Linked DNA regions of Homo sapiens: region 2 is linked to region 1. The links are contacts of gene promoters, found by promoter capture Hi-C in blood cells and fetal thymus (Javierre and others, 2016). All regions are on one chromosome and are shown on one strand. The core of a region is centred on a gene start or on the middle of the fragment in contact, and the rest is flanking DNA. Distances in the headings are between cores, read along the strand shown. Region 1 holds the start of GUF1 (GTP binding elongation factor GUF1). Region 2 holds the start of ANAPC10 (anaphase promoting complex subunit 10).

Region 1 (5,096 bases), core at 1,446-3,945:
GCTGTTGATTATTCCTCTGCTTAAGTTCCATTTATTTCCTTGGATAAAAACAAAAAACTGCCTATCCTTCGAAGCACATGAAAGATACCTCCTCTTTGAAGTTCAGTCACTATACCTCCTGCTTCTTCTCAAGTTGAATAATAAAGAAACTTGTGCAAAGATATTGCAAGAGATGAGCTTTAGTTTCCAAAAATTTGGATTCAAATTTTTTTTTGCATTTATCTATCATGTAATTTATCTATCATGTAATTTTAGACATTTTGCTTAATTTGTTTGAGTTTCCACAGCTAGTATATAACCTGACACAGTGGAGCTCAGTATTTTTCTAACAAATATGTTTTTCCATTTGTAGGCTGGGAAACATAATGTCAGCCTTATAAGATACTGCAGTTTTCTAAAGTGTGGGACAAATTCCTGTGGAGGCACCAAGATAGATACAGACATGGTATCAAGGATACTGTGTTATTCAGATAAAGTTTTTCTTTCAACCCTATTTAAATGCTTCTTGCTAGGTCAAAGAGAAAAATCTCAGTTTGAGGCTAATATTTTTAAATTCTTTTCTAATATCTGCTAATCTCCCTTTTGTAATCCAGACAGACCAAACCTACAATTGAATCACATTTTTTATTCACTACAGTTATATTTACTGTTACTCTTATGACAGCTCATCATGCTTTCTCCATTAATGGTATCTACGTTTTCTTTTAAAAAGAATTCATTTACATATAAAGGTAAGTTAAAGAAAAATATAAAGTACATAATATCGGTATGAGGATTGACAAAGATTCTTGACCAAACTCTAGCCTGACTCTTCTAAGCCCTCTTATCAGCAAAGCCTCAAACTTGCCTATAAAAACTACAGACCCTCAGCACAAATGATTTCATCCACATCCTTCCCCTACCGGTTTGCCCACACATTAAAAGACTTGAACAAACTCATATAGTTTATAACAGCTCAAGGCTGCATCTCTAAGATGAAGCCCCCTTAAATTTCTGTCTGAGAAAGCTCAAGACTGACAAAATAATTTATTTGTTCCAGCCAACATGTGAAAGTAGCACTCATTTCCTAGTGTCTGCGGGAAGGGTAGGAGCCTTATTTCCATAAGCAACAGTTTACAACCCAGATGGATTTCAAATGGACCATTCTTCCGCCATTGTTTTTTGTAAATTTCCGTTTCCCTGACTTTGATCAAGCCCAGTTGTTCTCTTTCCCTACTCCCGCATTCTCCTTTTAAAATACAGTCGCCTCTGGACAAATTGTAGTTTAGTTCATTCTGGATCTTATTCCCGATTGCATTAGTATATCACTATAATAAAAATCTGTCTTCACCACTTTAACTGGTGTCTGCCTTTATCTTTGACAGGATATGGTGAAAATTAATGAGGGTAATTGTGCAAATTATGGAAGTCTGGGCAACATTGAATATAAATTATTGTGTTTACTTCAAGATAGTTGTTAAATTCATTCTCTTACAAGTGTGACAGAATTAGTCGTCTATCAAGTACTGTTTTAATTCATAAAAGTTCCAAGAAAGGGCCAGGCGCGGTGGCTCACGCCTGTAATCGCAACACTTTGGGAGGCCGAGGTGGGCAGATCACGAGGTCAGGAGTTCGAGATCAGCGTGACCAACATGGTGAAACCCCGTCTCTACTAAAAATACAAAAATTAGCCATGATTGCTGGCGCGCGCCTGTAATCCCAGCTACTCAGGAGACTGAGGCAGGAGAATCGCTTGAGCCCAGGAGGCGGAGGTTGCAGTGAGCCGAGATAGCGCTACTGTACTCCAGCCTGGGCGACAGAGCGAGACACCATCTCAGGGGGGAAAAAAAAATCCAAGAAAGAACTGAGTCTGGTACAGAATTCTTGATCCTAAGAAATCCTCCAAATGAAGAAACTTTCAAAGGCTCTGGAAACAATACGAATGATTCTGTCTTCAGTCACAATGATGAACTGAACACAGCTGTCATCTCCCTCCTTCGCACCAAATTCTGGATATTCCAGAAAAGCGCAAGAGAAATAGTGGGAGACAAACACTGGATGCAATCCTCCTATCACCTGTTTTATCCCCCATTCTTACTTCGTCAGAGCTCATTCCATGAAGTGGTAACTTGATGACGATGGAAACATTGGGGGTCCAGCATGGAACTTTTTCCCACCTTTACTTCTTGCCAAAACCTTCCTGGATTCAGTATTGCAATCAATGTTATGGCCCGTTTCCTTTCAGATGCACTTCAAGATTAGCTCTGTCACTGACAACATGGGGAATACATTTCGACCTCCAGATTTTAAAAGTGCCATTATTATTTTGCCATTAGGTAGAAGGCTAAGTCTCAACGTTGTGCTAATAATAGCATCTTTAAGTCCCTGGACTAAGACCTCGGCTCCTGGTTCGGGAATCAGACTGCCTGGGCGGCACTCCAGGCTCCACAGCTCCCCACCTGTGAGCTCCTGGGCAAGTCACTCGGTCCGGATTTCCAGAGGTAGTTTGGGGGAACTGACAGTACACACACCACAGGGCAGTAGTAAGAAAGAGACAATGCAAAGGAATTGGCACAGCACTCAGCAGACAATATAAGCTAATATGTACTCTGTCTACACCCTGCGTTTTAGGGAGTCAATCGAAAGCCTCCACTCACGTGACCACTCCACTACCCGGCGCCAAGACGCGCTGATGTCACGACAGCGTGCGGCGTGCAGACGTCGGCAAGCTGCGCCGCCGCTTCGGGTTGCTTCCGGATCTGGTACTTGGGCAGAGCTCCCCGGGGTTCATTGTCTTCGCTTCACAGGATCTGTTTGAGTCCTGTCCACCGGATCCTACGGGGGGTACCTTCGAAAAAAAACGGGCTATGCTGCTGTTGCGTGTGGGTACCCTCTCCTGACGCCTCCGCCGCCCGGGTCATGTGGACCCTCGTGGGTCGGGGCTGGGGGTGCGCACGCGCTCTCGCGCCACGAGCCACTGGGGCCGCGCTTCTGGTGGCCCCGGGGCCCCGGTCCGCGCCGACCCTTGGGGCTGCTCCAGAGTCCTGGGCTACCGACAGGCTCTACAGCTCCGCAGAATTCAAGGTGACTGCCCCCTGGAATCTGATTTAGCCAAGTTTTCAAACGTTGGAGTGCCCCATGCGATCTTGGACATGTATAGGGCTTTCTGGGACTAGCTCTGAACCCTGCTTGCAACTTGGTACAGGGAGGCAGAGCGGAGAGTGTGAGCACTGCTCAGGTTCCCGACCCTCCACTCCTCACTAGTGTGACCTTGGGCAAGTCACTAACTTTGTAGGTTTTCTCATTTTCAATGTCAAATGTTGATTTGTTTACGCGAGCCACTGGTCGAAGTGCTTTGCGTTTATTCATCTATTTAATTCTAAAAAGCCTACTAAGCAAGTTGCTAGTAAATATTAATATAACGTCCATTTTCCTGCAAATTAAGTAGCTATGTGGCCTGGGCAAGTTACTACATTGTCACTCTCCTACTTCATTTGTTGAATGCAGAACTGATCAAACATCCAGTGGCTAATTTGTGAGATTTGTGTGATGTGAGAAGTGGACTTTTTTAGACTAATACCTAGAATGCAGGAAGTTCTCGGTCTGTCTTTGTAGTTTTATTTCATTCTACCTCAGCCAGAGCAAACCTGTGTAATTTTGACTCTGGTGGGAGAGGGTGGGAGGTTCAACAACTCTGATAATTGTGAATGGATACATTTTAGTCAGAAAAGTGAAGTGACTGAAGGCAAGCTATAAGTAGGCAGAAAGACAAAACCTTAAATTAATCAACTTTGGCCCTAATATGCCTGTGTTTTTAAAAATGGATTTATATTGCAATTCGAAGTATAAAGATGGTGCAATTCTCTATACCTTTTGAACTGAAGGGAAAGAAAATCTACAGGGCAAACATCAGAATTAGTTTTTTTTCGGCAGACTTTCAGCTATAATTGTGCTTTTATTATCTGTCTTTATGGGGCTATTAAAAAACAAAGCTCACGTGAATTTTATATTTCATTGTAATTTCATGGTTTTGCTGATTGTGAAATATGCAGTTGATTGGAAAAAAATAGAGTACAAAAAACTGGTATATTTTGCTTGATAACAATTTCTAGCAATTTGTGATGTGTTTCAGTAAAACGTTAAAGAAGATGTGTACACGAAAAACCAGGAGTTCCATTTTAAAATATTTTTAAGTTTTAAGTGATAAGTCTTTTGTTGGATGTCATCTTTTTTTCTTTCTCACCAGAGAAGCTGCAAAGTAGCAAAATTGTATTTAAAATAAAATTTTGAGGCTCCATTAGAGACACAGATTTTTAAATAAATCTGATTCCTGATTAAATGTGTGATAGGAGCAGAAAATTTATCTTCTTTCAGCTTTTCTGTAGCTCCATTGCCTCAAAAGTTTTACTAGACAAGGTATTCTCAGGCCTTTAGAAGTTCTAGGTGTCTCATGTTCTCCATTCACGATAATAAATTCAGTTCCTGATTGGCCCTAAAAATTGTGTAGAAATGTTAAGGGATTATGATTTAGCTGTATAGTTACCTTTGGCTATTAAACTGATGTTCCTTGTAATATGAACTTAGCCATACATGTCTTTTTCTTAGAATAATAATATAAACAATATAAATGCTAGAAATGATATTGTTCAACGATTAAAAGAATATTCTTTGAATTGGTATACTTGTTTGATAGTATGCCAAATTTATACTCCTAAATGTGGTATTTCCCCTTTCTAGGAAAAACTTGACATGTCTAGGTTTCCTGTTGAAAATATTAGAAATTTCAGTATTGTTGCACACGTGGATCATGGCAAAAGTACTTTAGCTGACAGGCTCCTAGAACTTACAGGTATTTCATTTATGTTACATACTTAACTGATGGCTGCGAGTTATTGGGAATTACTTTTACTCTTAAATTTTAATTTTATAAGTAATATTCTCTTTTTTTTTTAAAGCCCAGAGAAATATCAATAAGTGTTTCTGTTTATAGGGACAATTGATAAAACAAAGAATAATAAGCAGGTTCTTGATAAATTGCAAGTGGAACGAGAAAGAGGAATCACTGTTAAAGCACAGACAGCATCTCTCTTTTACAATTGTGAAGGAAAGCAGTACCT
Region 2 (5,096 bases), core at 675-3,174, about 100 Mb after region 1:
TAGGGGCTGGGCATGGTGGCTCACACCTGTAATCCCAACACTTTGGGAGGCTGAGACAGGAGGATCATGTGAGCCCAGGAGTTCAAGACCAGCCTGGACAACATGGCAAGACCCCATCTCTATTTTTAAATAAATAAAAATCTTAGGAATTCAGGTTTTGTTTCATATGACCAGATATGCAAAGCAGTGAGCTATAGTAGTCAAAAGAGCACAGAATCAAAGTTTTGGCTTCAGTATCTCCTTTAATCAGCCTAGACTTTGAGTAGGTCTGGGCTTTATTTCCTCTCCTGTTAAAGAGGTTCACTTGATGATTTTTACTTCTACAATGCTATGCAGTTCTATAATTCTGTGCCTGAAAATTCAAATGACTTTTAGCCCTAGAAAAGTCAGACTGAAATACTTTTATTCTAGGAATATATAAATATTGATCCTCATTTTATTTACTTAATTCCTTTTTTTTTAGAGACAGGATCTAGCTATGTTACCCAGGCTGGTCTTGAACACCTTGCTTCAAGCGATCCTCCCACCTCAGCCTCCCAAGTAGCTGGGATTACAGGTGTGATCCCATCACCCCACTAAGATCCTCATTTTAAATATTCATTGAGTGATGCAGAGAACAGTCATACCTGCCCTCTAGCTGTCAAAAGTTTTATTTAAGACCCAGCCCGGTGGCTCACACCTGTAATCCCAGCAGTTTGGGAGGCCAAGGCAGGTGGATTGCTTGAGCCCAGGAGTTCGAGACCAGCCTGGAATATGGTGAAACCCTGTCTCTAAAAAAATTCCAAAAAATCAGCCTGGTGTGGCGGCACACACCTGTAGTCCCAGGGGGGCTGAGACAGGAGGATCACCTGAACTGGGAGGCGGAGGTTGCAGTGAGCCGAGATCGTGCTACTGCACTCCAGCCTGCGTAACAGAGCAAGACACTGTCCCAAAAAGCACAAAAATAAGAAAAAAATGTTAAAAGTTCACTTACATATGCTCTTACCATAGAAGATAAGGTCAGGAAAATGGCTTCAAGATTTTGAAGTGAATAACTGGCCCATTCTAAAAAGGTTGACCTCATCTTTCACATCTTTTGTTAATTTTACTAAGTCTATTCATATGTGAAAAAACACTTCAATACTGGATCGTGAACAATATGTAAAACTGCTTTGGTAGCGCAGTTACTGCTACTGAACATTGTTATATATGCTATTCAAAATAGGTGCAATAGTTCTGCATACCGTTTCCTTGACACCTCCCATTGTATCCGAAGTTGTTCTTTAATCGGCACACAAGCACTTGATACTTACTAAATAACGGCAGACACAACGGACTGTAAACTTTGGCAAGGCCTGAGGCTTAAACGCTCAATAAGTAATTTACTGAATGAATAAACAGATGAATAGGTTCAGTTATGAACTAGTTGTCACTTGCCTGCAAGTTAGGTGAGATCTAGGGCGAGACTATTCAACCTGCAACCATCATTACTAACTGAATGTCCTGTTACCTAAAAAAAGATAGAAATAAAGCCCATCTTTAGGGCAGAATTCAACTGCCGGACTTGGGACTGGACGCCACCAAGTGGATAAAATATGGAGCTCGGAAAAGATTGGATTCCCGGCCCTGAACTGACCACACAGTTGAGAGGAAGTTGAGGCCTAGAAGAGCGCGCAACAGTAAGCCGTGTCGGCACCAGACTCTGTTGGTCCTACTGACACCTCCAGCGTTAGAATGACTAAGGCTCCACTCCTGACCCACCGGCCTTGAGGAAAGCGCAAACGTAAAAAAAGATTGAAACCGGAGAGGCGAATGCATCTGTTTACGCTAGGACCACGCTCGACGTCGGAGAAAAGCCCACACACTCACAGTTTCCAGACCTGGCTGCTTGCCGAAACTCAGATTCTCGGCACCTCCAGCAGCTGGCTTCGCCAACGGCGTTGAACAAGGGTCGCAGCTCAATGACGTCATATCTCCCTACCTACCTCCAGGGTTCCGCCTCACGCTCTATGTCGCGCGCGCGCACTACGTCCTATGGCTTGCGCGTGCGGCGGCTGGGCACCGCCATTTTGGCCGGTGGCCGTGAGAACACGCTGTGTGGCTGAAAAGTGAAGGCAAGAGCTGATTTGGCCTCTGTGCTCCCCTCCGCAAGGGGATCGTTTTCTCCAGGTACGTGAATAGCCCGGAGAGGTTTGGCCGTTAGCTGCCATCTGCCAGGTTGGAAAGAATGTAGGGACGTTCTCCGAGAGCCTTTGGTTAGGCCTTAGGTGGCGGAGACAGCAGCAGCGCGTGGCAGCGGTTCCTGCGGGACAGCTGGAACTGATGGAGCGCGGGCGACGCCGAGAGCTTGGGGGCGCCTCGGTCTTCCCCTCCAGCCGACCCGGCTGTCGCCGCTGTTGCCTGCCACACCCGCGAGGGACTTCGAGAATGGACCTAGATGCCGTAGTCTCCACTCCCCCTTTACCCCACTCCCGCCCTGAAGCTAAACCTGCTGGAGAGGAAGGCACCTTTAGAACTTACAGCACTCTCTAGTACCCCCACACTCCTCCAGCACCCAAAATGGATATATTGTCACATGTGCATATTTGGTTGTGGGAAGTCGTGGCTTCCACGTTTTGTTGAGTGGAATGAGTCATGGCATCTTGCCGCCATGAAGTCGAATACTCGCTGTCCACTCCCAGGCTTTATAGAAATGATGCCCACATGTCACTCTGCTTTTCTCAGAACAGCGTGTACGCAGCTATGACTGGGGTTGTCCCAAGTAGTTTCCCAGTAGAAATCCTATAGTTTTTTTGGTACGCTTTTGTAGCACTAGGCACTTTCTCCCCTTACCCGTTTTTCCTTTTATTGTATCTAATACTCATTGAGATCAAGGTTGATGTCTTTACTCAGAATACCTTTATTATCTCTTCAGGGCTTCGTACATTGTAGGCATTTAATACGTATTGTGAATGAATGACAGCCAAAGCCGAATTCCCACCTCCCATTAACTACATAAGCTTATTTTCTCTTTTTTGATGGTAAAAATCTATAAGAGGAAGAACTGTCCAAATAACATGTTTTATTTTTTTACTCTTTCCCAACAGGACTGCTAACTAGTCATTTATGATAGTGGCATTTATGTTGCAGTAGTTTGTCCCATATTCTGAGAATATTCATTGTATACCAGCCACCTGACACTAATACTTTGTTAGTGTAACCAAAGGCTCAGAACCTGTATTTGAACCAAAAGCTGTTTGGGGTTTGTGAGCTTTTTGAGAACTTAGTTCTCCCCTATTTTAAAAAAGGGAGTTTTTTTGTTTGTTTGTTTGTTGGAAGAGCATCTAACAATTGGGAGAGAGGGGGAGAAAACAATATTAAGTTAGAGTTCTTCTAAATGTCTTAAACTTAAAACTCTTTGAAATCAGAGCCGTGTACCACTCCTAACTTCTACGTGTTTTGTAAGACTAATAAACTACAATAAGCATGGGTTAGACTATTTCATGTGATACTAAACATCATTAGTTAACAGCAGTCTTTGAAATGCTTTTACACAGCGTTACAATTATTTTGGCTTTAGACTGTAAATGCTTCTAAGTATTCCTCACTTCCTTTTTTCCTCTCAGCTGTAAGAATGACACTGAGGGTCATTGTTCTAGTGTCAATTTTGAACACTTTTGTCTTCGAATCTGAAATATCCGCAAATCCTTCTTTGTTTGCAGGAGCCTGTTAACTATAATCTTCCTCTCCAAGCTTTACTGTGCCTAGGTTTTCTATTGAAAAACAAGTAGGGAATCCCCTTGCCCCAATTATTGAAACTGATACAGAAATTGAATTAAAAGTGTTCACACAGTTAATTAACAGTTCTACAAAGAATCCATGTTCATTTTTCTTAAATGCATTACAATTTATCACTATTTTTATATAAATCAGTTTATTAACCACTTCTGGTATGTTTTTATTCTACTGTAAAAATCAAGCCAGGGTAGTGACATGCACCTATAGTCCCAGCTATTCGGGAGGCTAAAGCAAGAGGATCCCTTGAGCCCAGGAGTCCCAGTCTGTAGTGTCCTGTGATCACTGCCCTCAGCCAGGACACCATAGCAAGATCCCTGTGTCTTTTTAAAAAATTGTCTTTTACAGTCTTTTGGTTTTTAAAATAGTTTGAAAAATTAAATATTTTAGTAGTTTAACAGAAATAAAGTTTAAGCAATTTCGTGGTGATTTATCCCCTGGAGGGGAATTCATTATGCTCTTTCACTGAGTAATTGTAGAAAGGCATTCAGTATTTAAATTAGAATGCATGGTGTCCAGTTTTAATAGCTTGCTGAAGAATCTTCATTTCCTAGGAAGTTGTCATTTCCCGAATAATAGCTTTTTTGTGACAATTCAAGCCATCTAATTTCTTCCTCTTCTAATCTTTACAAGACCTGGACCAGTTTTTAGAGGAATAGAGTCAACCTGTTTATTGGAATAACCCTGTACTTATTACATGAACATTTAGTCTCCTTTTGAATGATTTTTTTTTTCAGTATGTAGTTTAGTGGACAACTGTCACTATAAAATATTGGTAACTTGCAAGATTTCTAAAGTTGTTATAACCTACAGGAAAATTATTTACTATATTTAAATTCATATTCTCATTCATTTAGCAGAAATGCTTGATCTCCTGTGTGCTAGGCACAGGTTCAGCCACTGGAATGAACAAAAATTCCTACCCTCATGATGGATGGAGTACATTCTACTTGGGGAGGGGAAAAATGTGTATGTGTTTGTAGAGAGACAATATACATACACACACCCACGATAGATGTGTGCATATACACCAGATATATATAAAAAAAATATATATATGGAATATATAGTATGTCATATAGTTGAGCTAGGGAGAAAAATAAAGCAAGAAAGAAGGATGAAGAGGCAGTTGGGTGTATTTTTCGGTAGTGTATATTGTGGTAGTGTAGTTACAAAAGGCTCACTGAGAAATAGTAAAGATTGAAAGGAGTAAGCCATGTAACTCTCTAGGGGGAATAGCATTACAGGCAGAAAGTGCCAAGATCTTGAAGCAAGAACATGCCTGGCATGTGCTAGGAACAACAAAGAGCCAATGTAGCTGGAGCCATACAAGAGCTAGAGTA

The links. Contacts are between HindIII fragments. The CHiCAGO score rates a contact against its expected background, and 5 or more counts as called.
Region 2: the fragment with the promoter of ANAPC10 here is called in contact with the fragment with the promoter of GUF1 in region 1 in 1 of 17 cell types (total CD4 T cells); the score reaches 7.5 in total CD4 T cells.

Annotation. Positions count from the first base shown.
Region 1 is chr4:44,675,725-44,680,820 of GRCh38, forward strand. It overlaps GUF1 (GTP binding elongation factor GUF1), which reads left to right and starts at 2,696. Exons shown (of 17, transcript NM_021927.3): 1 at 2,696-3,063; 2 at 4,717-4,828; 3 at 4,970-5,096. The coding sequence starts at 2,899. RefSeq lists an enhancer at 1,915-2,803 and a silencer at 2,875-3,034. The HindIII fragment of the contact is 9,672 bases long and covers 1-5,096 here.
Region 2 is chr4:145,096,272-145,101,367 of GRCh38, forward strand. ANAPC10 (anaphase promoting complex subunit 10) reads right to left here and starts at 1,925. Exons shown (of 5, transcript NM_001256706.2): 1 at 1,849-1,925. It overlaps ABCE1 (ATP binding cassette subfamily E member 1), which reads left to right and starts at 2,040. Exons shown (of 18, transcript NM_002940.3): 1 at 2,040-2,148. RefSeq lists enhancers at 1,180-2,051, 1,299-2,498, 1,632-1,681, 1,762-2,021, 2,052-2,923 and 1 more. The HindIII fragment of the contact is 4,584 bases long and covers 1-2,976 here.